Regions from separate parts of the Homo sapiens genome. Here region 2 is linked to region 1. The links are contacts of gene promoters, found by promoter capture Hi-C in blood cells and fetal thymus (Javierre and others, 2016). All regions are on one chromosome and are shown on one strand. Each heading gives the region's core, a stretch centred on a gene start or on the middle of the fragment in contact. The rest is flanking DNA. Distances are from core to core; before and after follow the strand shown. Region 1 holds the start of RPL11 (ribosomal protein L11). Region 2 holds the start of CNR2 (cannabinoid receptor 2).

What was found. Contacts are between HindIII fragments. The CHiCAGO score rates a contact against its expected background, and 5 or more counts as called.
Region 2: a contact is called between a fragment that was not itself captured here and the fragment with the promoter of RPL11 in region 1, in 1 of 17 cell types (naive B cells). The highest score is 5.1, in naive B cells.

What each region holds. Positions count from the first base shown.
Region 1 is chr1:23,688,693-23,693,262 of GRCh38, forward strand. RPL11 (ribosomal protein L11) reads left to right here and starts at 3,114. Exons shown (of 6, transcript NM_000975.5): 1 at 3,114-3,137; 2 at 3,917-4,067. The coding sequence starts at 3,132. RefSeq lists an enhancer at 3,076-3,395. The HindIII fragment of the contact is 4,092 bases long and covers 1,241-4,570 here.
Region 2 is chr1:23,909,312-23,913,963 of GRCh38, forward strand. CNR2 (cannabinoid receptor 2) reads right to left here and starts at 4,051. Exons shown (of 2, transcript NM_001841.3): 1 at 3,935-4,051. RefSeq lists a silencer at 900-949 and enhancers at 2,920-3,089, 3,863-4,377. The HindIII fragment of the contact is 3,555 bases long and covers 966-4,520 here.

The sequences.
Region 1 (4,570 bases), core at 1,864-4,363:
GGAGAGTGAGGAGCGTCTCTGCCCGGCCGCCATCCCATCTGGGAAGTGAGGAGCGCCTCTTCCCGGCCGCCATCCCACCTGGGAGGTGAGGAGCGTCTCTGCCCGGCCGCCCATCGTCTGAGATGTGGGGAGCGCCTCTGCCCCGCCGCCCCGTCTGGGATGTGAGGAGCGCCTCTGCCCGGCCGCGACCCCGTCTGGGAGGTGAGGAGCGTCTCTGCCCAGCCGCCCCGTCTGAGAAGTGAGGAGACCCTCCGCCCAGCATCCGCCCCGTCTGCGAAGTGAGGAGCCCCTCCGCCCGGCAGCCGCCCCGTCTGAGAAGTGAGGAGCCCCTCTGCCCGGCAGCCACCCCGTCTGGGAAGTGAGGAGCGTCTCCGCCCGGCAGCCGCCCCGTCCGGGAGGGAGGTGGGGGGGTCAGCCCCCCGCCCAGCCAGCCGCCCCGTCCGGGAGGGAGGTGGGGGGGTCAGCCCCCCGTCCGGGAGGTGAGGGGCGCCTCTGCCCGGCCGCCCCTACTGGGAAGTGAGGAGCCCCTCTGCCCGGCCACCACCCCGTCTGGGAGGTGTACCCAACAGCTCATTGAGAACGGGCCGGGATGACAATGGCGGTTTTGTGGAATAGAAAGGGGGGAAAGGTGGGGAGAAGATTGAGAAATCGGATGGTTGCCGTGTCTGCGTAGAAAGACGTAGACATGGGAGACTTTTCATTTTGTTCTGTACTAAGATAAATTCTTCTGCCTTGGGATCCTGTTGATCGGTGACCTTACCCCCAACCCTGTGCTCTCTGAAACATGTGCTGTGTCCACTCAGGGTTAAATGGATTAAGGGCGGTGCAAGACGTGCTTTGCTAAACAGATGCTTGAAGGCAGCATGCTCGTTAAGAATCATCACCACTCCCTAATCTCAAGTACCCAGGGACACAAACACTGCGGAAGGCCGCAGGGTCCTCTGCCTAGGAAAACCAGAGACCTTTGTTCACTTGTTTATCTGCCGACCTTCCCTCCACTATTGTCCTATGACCCTGCCAAATCCCCCTCTGCGAGAAACATCCAAGAATGATCAATAAAAATTAAAAAAAAAAATACATTGTACAGTAATCTTTTAATCAAAACACTGCATCATAGGTGGAGACTGAAAGCCTGCCACTTGTGGTCGCTGTTTTTTGTTTGTTCGTTTGTTTGTTTTGAGACAGGGTCTTGCTCTATCACCCAGGCTGGAGTGCAGTGGTGTGATCTTGGCTCACTGCAAGCTTCTTCTCCTCGGTTCAAGCGATTCTCCTGCCTCAGCCTTCCGAGTAGCTCGGATTACAGGCATGCACCACCAGGCCCGGTTAATTTTTGTATTTTTAGTAGAGACGGGGTTTCACCCCGTTGGCCAGGCTGGTCTCGAACTCCTGACCTTAAGTGATCCACCCGCCTTAGCCTCCCAAAGCGCTGGGATTACAAGTGTGAGCCACAGCACCTGGCCTGGTTGGCGGGGCCGGGGTCGGGTGTGGTGGTGGGGGGAGGGGGGGTGGGTCGCTGTTGTTTCACAGCTGATCCAGGTTTTCTGGTGATGCTCCTCTGCTGCTTAGTTGCCCTGAACACATTACTTTTTCACTGTATTAATGACATAGCATATATTTTGCTGTTAAGAACTTATTTTTTATTTTTGAGACGGAGTCTCGCTCTGTCACCCAGGCTGGAGTGCAGTGGCGCGACCTCGGCTCACTGAAAGCTCCGCCTCCCAGGTTCACGCCATTCTCCTGCCTCAGCCTCCAGAGTAGCTGGGACTACAGGCGCCCGCCACCACGCCCGGCTAATTTTTTTTTTTTTTTTTTTTTGTATTTTTAGTAGAGACGGAGTTTCACCGTGTTAGCCAGGATGGTCTCGATTTCCTGACCTCGCGATCCGCCCGTCTCGGTCTCCCAAAGTGCTGGGATTACAGGCGTGAGCCACCGCGCCCGGCCGCTGTTAAGTACTTATATGTGAATAAGCGTAAGAAAGTATTGCTTATCAATAGCATATACATTTACAGTCTGGAAAAATGGTTAGGCCAACCAACCAGAGATTGTCCACAAGGGTGGCTGAGATAGTGACACCTTTGCTTTCTGATGGTTCAATGTACACAAACTTTGTTTCATGCACAAACTTACTTAAAATATTGTATAAAATTACCTTCAGACTATGTGTATAAGGTGTATATGGAACATAAATTAATTTCATATTCAGACTTGGGTTCCATCCCCAAGATATCTCATTATGTTTATGCGAATATTCCATAATCCGGAAAAATCCCAAATCTAAAAACCGTCTGGTCCCAGGCTTTTCAGGTTAGGAATACGCACCCTGTAGTAACTTGCCCAAGGTCACATAGCTACTAGCTGGTCGAGACAGGACCACATCTGCCTGTCTTCAAGCTCGGGACTCTTAAACCACCACTCCTTTCCGTTTGTATAAATTCTATTTGTGCCCGGAGTGGTGGCTCACGCCTGTAATCCCAGCACTTTGGGAGGCCAAGGCGGGTGGATCATTTGAGGTCAGGAGTTCCATACCAGCCCGACCAACATGGTGAAACCCCATCTCTACTAAAAATACAAACAAATTAGACCGGTATGGTGGTGCGTGCCTGTAATCCCAGCTACTTGGGAGGCTGAGGCAGGAGAATCGCTTGAACCCGGGAGGCGGAGGTTGCAGTGAGCCGATATCGCGCCACTGCACTTCAACCTGGGTGACACAGCGAGGCTCCGTCTCAAAAAATAAATAAATAAATAAATTATATTTGTTTACGTTGTTACAGAATAAATTTGCGTCATAATTTGCATGATTGATTTAATGTAGTTTTGGCGTTCTCATCACACAAGGACCACCAGCTCGTGACACTGGGAGGAGAGAACGTCCTCAAGGTCCGGAAACTCAAGGACGTGCTGATTCGGGAGCTTTCAAAAACTATTTTTGGAAAACCCAGATCCCGGTCTTCAGCCAGCGTCGCCTGCAGTGGCTAGCACTACCCACAAGGGAGAAGCCGACGCTGCAGGGCTTTGCCAAATGCGCCTCTCTTCCTCGTCTTCATCTCTGTGGTTAGCCTGGGAAAAGAGCCCGCCTCCTGGCCCATAAGGCCCTCGGCCGGAAGCTCCGCTTTCTCTTCCTGCTCTCCATCATGGCGGTGAGTAGCTGGGACCTGGATTTGCTTTCCTTTATCCGTCGCCATCCATGGCAGGCCGAGCCTGCGGGGGCTACTTCGCCCGCAGCCCGAGGAATATGGAGCCCGCAATGCCTGCTGGCCCAAAACTAGCAGAGCCGTTCGAGCCAAGGACGCAGGGTTGAATTCTGTCACTTTCCCTGCCATCGTTTTAGGAGCGGCTCCGGGCACTTGCCCGGAGTGCTCAGAAGCACGGTCAGGAGGCTGCAGCGGGGGCAGATGGGGTGAATGGAGGGTTCTGAGGCAGGGGGGTCCGGGCCTTTTCCTGGTCCCGGGGACTTGAGACTTGCTCGGTGCTAGGAAACCTTAGTCGGTTGCTCCGCTTAGGGAAGGTGCCAGCCTTTAGACAGCTTCCGAATAGGATGCTGGACGTCGCATAACCACGTGTTTCCTGTTAACTGAGCAATTAAGTTCTGTTTCTTCGCTCACTCCCCTTAGTTGGCCTTACAATGGGGGCGCTCTTTGTTACCCTGAGCCTCTTAGGGTTCGATCTCAGTGTCCGTATCTTTTAACACTCAATAACTGTCCTGAGTTTTCTCTTCACCCGTTCCGTTCGTGGAGGAAGGATAGGTTCCGAGCTGTCTTCTTCCCTTGATGTCCCCTAAACATTATACCTTTTAAACATTCAGGGTCTTCGTTACGATTTGGGATGAGCAGAAATAAAAATGCTGTGCAGATAGAAAGTAGTAAAACTCAGGGCCCTCAGCTGTGAGTGTATTGACTGCTGCTCTTCCCTGTTGCAGCAGGATCAAGGTGAAAAGGAGAACCCCATGCGGGAACTTCGCATCCGCAAACTCTGTCTCAACATCTGTGTTGGGGAGAGTGGAGACAGACTGACGCGAGCAGCCAAGGTGTTGGAGCAGCTCACAGGGCAGACCCCTGTGTTTTCCAAAGGTGAGTAGTCACAAGGACATACAGGGTTTGCCTGCTTGGGTCGCTTGGTTGTTTCTTGATTTACCTGCTGTCGAGTCTGTTTAGAAAGTGACAGTCGGCATCACTTAAAGCATTAAATTCATGAGCCGGCCAAGAGGTGTCTTTTTTTTTTTTTTTTATTCAAGATGGCGTGTGGGATTGGAACACTAGATTTTATTTGAGCAGATCTTAAGCTAAGACTAGCCCAAGTAAAGATTTTCCTAAGTAACTAGGATATGAGATAGAGTGGAAATGTCAGGAACGAAGTAAAGATCATTAGATCTGATTAGCAGTTAGGGTTATATAGGCTGCATTAAGAACAGGGCTGTACGGGAGCATGAGGCTTCAGTGGCCTATATTAGTGCCACTGCACTCCAGCCTGGTTGACCCTATCTCAAAAGTTGTATACAGATTGCCTGGGTTTGAGTGATGGCTTCACCATTTGCTGGTCTGACTCTGGGCTCTCTGGACCTCTGCTTTTTTCT
Region 2 (4,652 bases), core at 1,493-3,992, 220 kb after region 1:
AACAGTTTTACACTGTTCTGGGTTCTGCTGGAAGAAGGCTGAGACCTGATCTTACTCTTCTGGTGGTCCCTGCAGCATAGCTGGGGACCGAGAGCCTTGGCTGTGCGTGGGTTCCCACTCTGCCCTCTCCCGAGACTTCAGTGTCCTCATTTATAGCTTGGGGAGAGAAAGAGAATTGCCTTTACAGGACCGAGGTGAGGATTACATAAGATAATGCCTAAGCACAGTCAGGGAAGGTCTGTCAGAGATCATCATGGAAACAGGAAGTCACCTGGGCCAAGGGCTAGAGCCTCAGGGTCTTGGCACAGAGTAGACACCTCACAAGACTGGATTGGACTGCTCAGTTTGGGGTGGGAGGAGAGAAGCCGGCCATATTCATATGATATCCCTCCAATTTCCTCCCCAGCGCAGGTTCTCGGGTTGTCCATGTGATGGCATCTGAAACGCAGCCTGGCGAGCGACACAGTAAAGACAACCCTGATCATGAGTCCCCGAGCCTGCCCTGCATCTCCATACCTAGAGGCATTTCCACTCCCGTTCTCCTATTTTGATTCCCACCACAATATGGCTTGGTTCTGGATCCAGATTGACCTGGACTTGAGTCTCAGCTTTGCCATTACCACCAGTTATGGGACTGTGGACAAGTCTCTCTCCTTCTTTTTTTTTTTTTTGAAACAGTATCTTGCTCAGTTACCCAGGCAATAATAGCTCACTGCAGCCTCAATCTCCCAGGCTTAAACAATCCTTCCACCTCAGCCCCCTGAGTAGCTGGGACCACAGGCATGTGCCACCATGCCTGGCTAATTTTTAATTTTTTTTTTTTTTTTTTTGTAGAGATAGGGTCTCACTATGTTTCCTAGACTGGTCTTGAAGTGCTGAGCTCAAGCTATCCTCCTGCCTGGGCCTCCCAAAGTGCCAAGCTTACAGGTATGAGCCACCATGCCCGGCCCCTTGGATAAGTCTTAAGCTTGTGTGAGCTTCAGTTTCTCACCTTGCAAATGTGGTTAGTGATAGCAGCCCCCTCCTAGGCTGTGGTGAGGACTTAATGAGGAACGGTCACAGAGCTCAAATGTGTAGTAAATGCTTCATCAATCTTCGCTTAAGAAAAAAACAAGAGCGGATCACCTGAGATCGGGAGCTCGAGACCAGCCTGGCCAACATGCAGAAACCCCATCCCTACTAAAAATACAAAATTAGCCGGGCGTGGTGGTGCATGCCTGTCATCCCAGCTACTTGGGAGGCTGAGGCAGGAGAATCGCTTGAACCCAGGAGGCAGAGGTTGCAATGAGCTGAGATTACGCCATTATACTCCAGCCTGGGCAACAAGAGCAAAACGCTGTCTCAAAAAAAAAAAAAAAAAAAAAAAAAGAAAGAAAAGAAAAGAAAACAAAACAAAAAAACAAAAAACAAAAAACAAGAGCCCCTTTGAGGCAGGTTGGGAATGCTATGATAGCGTCATTTTTAGAGTTGAAGAAACTGAGGTTCAGAAAGGTGATGTAACTTGCCCCAGGTTGCCTGAGTAATTGATGAGGGAGACTTGGGTTTCCATGTGATTCCATGTGATTGATAGCACAAGCTCTGAACCCACAGCGCAGGACTCTCTGCTCACACTGGCTCCGCTATTCCTTGGCTGTGTGACACTGAGCAAGTCAACACTGCTGCTGAGTCTTGGTTTTTCTCATCTGTAAGATAGGGCTGCCTGTCTCTTTTCAGAGTGCCCTTTGTGTCTCGTGGCTCGGGGACTTTTTTCAGGGGTGAGAGTAGGAAGCAGAAGCTATTTGAAGACAACCCTTCTTCCTGTCCTTTCCTGAGAACCTGAGCGCAGTGAGAAGGTTAGGTCACGTGGGTGGGGGGTGGGGAGAGAAGAGTGTCCATCTGCCATCCACAGCCAAGGGGAGAGGAGAGATTGTCCTTGGCTGGGAGGGGACCGAGGTCTTGGGCACCTAGAATTTGCTTTCTGGGAAGATGGCAGGACCTCTGGGGGAAGTCACTGGGTGATATATCCTGGATGTCAAAATGAGACACAGTGGTTTCAGGTCTTACAAAGAATCTGGACTCCAGGCATGCCAGGGAAGTGGGCAAGGCTGGACTTCAGACAATCAAGTCCATTTGGGCAATGGGCATCCATCGTAGGAGGACCCAGGAGCCTCCCTCACGCTTATGTTCTGTGTGTCCTCTGGGTCAATGTGCATGGGTGGGGATGGGAGTGAGGGAAGCTCAGTGCACTTGGAGATTAAATTTCCTCCTAGCCCAGTAGGATGAGGCTCAGGGTCCTATTGAATGTGACTTCAACTGAATAAAGAAAAGATCAATTTATGCACACCCGAGGGTGTGCAGTAAGAGTGACTGGTACTGTAAAATGAGGTGGGAAGAGAGGGGGCTGGCGCTGGAGGGCTCTGCTTGGCTGAGCCAGGCTGCCATTTTCCCGTCTTCACTGCCTTATCCTGGCCTTAGCCGGCCAAAGGGTAAAGGATATGCTTCACCTGCCCAGCGCAGGTTAGGGGGTCACTCTGGTAAGCCACAAGGTGGTTACAGAGCTGGGGCCAGGATTATTGGGACTCCACCTCCTGAGCTCTCCCTGAACTTCTCCCCAGCCTCCATCCTGGTTTTCATGCTGCCAACGTGTCTACTTGCCACTCATTCCAGGGAAAAGCAGCCAGGCCTCATTTTATCCTCATCTCAGATCCACAGCAAGAGCAGATGGGGTGAAGATCAAACTCTCCACCACAGCCATTCCCGAGCCCTGTGCTGCTGCCCGCCCTGTGCCCGCATCAGACAGTTGACTCGCAACAAGCCTGTGAGTGACCTTCTCAGGCCCATGTTTCTCAGAAGAGGAAGCTGAGCAGGAAAGAAATGGAGTGATTTGCATTAGGCCATCGAGCTACCAGTGGCAGAGCTGGGATTCAGACCTGGACGCTGACCCCAGGGCACACTGGAAAATACTGCTCTTCCCTCCGCTGAGTGGAACTTACACCAAAGCAGACCCCTGGCCTCCTGAGTCCAGTGTGCCCCTAACACTACCTTGTGGTCTCCCCATCTATAAAATGAGAGCGCAGGACTCACCTGGTCATCTCAAAGGCCTCTGCCAGCCCCTGTCATTTCCTGGCCCCCATCTACTGTTGCAGTCCACACCTCGTAAGGCAGGATAGCCTGGTGGCTGAAGGGTGGGCCGCGAAGCCGGAGTGCCTAGGCTCAAGCCAATGCTCTCATTCAATGCCCGCATGATTTCAGGTGGGTCACCTAGCCCCCACCTATCAAGTGGACAACAGTGATAGCTCCTACTGCATACGGCTGTTGTGAGGATTAAATAAATCCAACCACTAAAGGCTCTTAGGGCAGCGCCTGGCACACAGTAAGGCCATCTCTGTGTGTGTGATTCTTGTCTCTGTAATGAAATGAAAGCCAAAGTCCTGATTCTTGGTCCTAGGAGGGGGATGCCAGCCCTGAACTTTCCTGCGACTGGTCCTCCACAACCCCAGGTGTCCTGAAATGACATCTATCCCCTGCCCCAGACAGGCCCACCTGGCTTCTTGTGTCCCTGGAGGGAAGGGATAAGGTAAGAATACAGGTTTTGGCCAGGTGCAGTGGCTCATGCCTGTAATCCCAGCACTTTGGGAGGCCAAGGTGGGCAGATCACCTGAAGTCGGGAGTTCGAGACCAGCCTGGCCAACATGGTGAAACCCTGTCTCTACTAAAAATACAAAAATTAGCCAGACGCAGTAGTGCACACCTGTAATCCCAACTACACGGGAGGCTGAGGCAGGAGAATCGCTTGAACCTGTGAGGCTGCACTGAGCCGAGATTGTGCCACTGTACTTTAGCCTGGTCAACAGAGCAAAACTCCGTCTCAAAAACAAACAAACAAACAAAAAAGAATACAGGTGTTGGGGAATGAGGAAGAAGCCTAAAATAAACAACAAAAAAAGCTACTCACGGTTGTGTTGTGGGTGGCTGGGCACTGGGAGCTGCCGGGGGCTGAGGAGTCCCAGTTGTTTTCTGTCCTCTCCCAGGACCTGGCCGTGGGTGCCACTCAGAGCACCTGTTGAGTGCCACCCCAAGCCAGCTTTCTCTTGCTTTTGTACTTTCTCACAGATGAGTGAGTGTGAGGAGGTCTGGCCTTCCGTGCCTGTTACCACTTCCCCTCCAGGTCCCTGGTGCCACAATGCTCTTGCCCCTGCGGTTGAGTTATCTCTTACAACGAACTCTGGCCAGGGTGGGGCATGGGCCTAGACCCTGGAGTCAAGGGACTTGGGTTCTAATACAGCCTCGTTAAAATGTTGATTCACTTAACTTCCCCAAAGGCAAGTTTCTTTATCTGTAAAATGGGGATAATGCACCAACATTACAGTAGATCACCTAAAAGGACATGCCATTCCAATGCCTCTTCACCACTAGGCCAGAGCTTTGAAATGCAAATGCCTACAGGCAGATTAACATAATGGGTGATGGATCCTGGTGTGGGGCAATAGGGAGTGGTAGGGACTGTGGGTAATAGGGGGAACACAGGACCCAAGTGGAAAAGCTTGGCTGGAGCTGAGAGGTACCTGACCCTCTCTACTGGCCCAGCTGAGAGGTATCTGCCCCACACCCCAGACCCTGATCTGGGCCAGTAGAGAGGGGCAGGTACCTCTTAGTTCCAGCCAAGCTTTTCT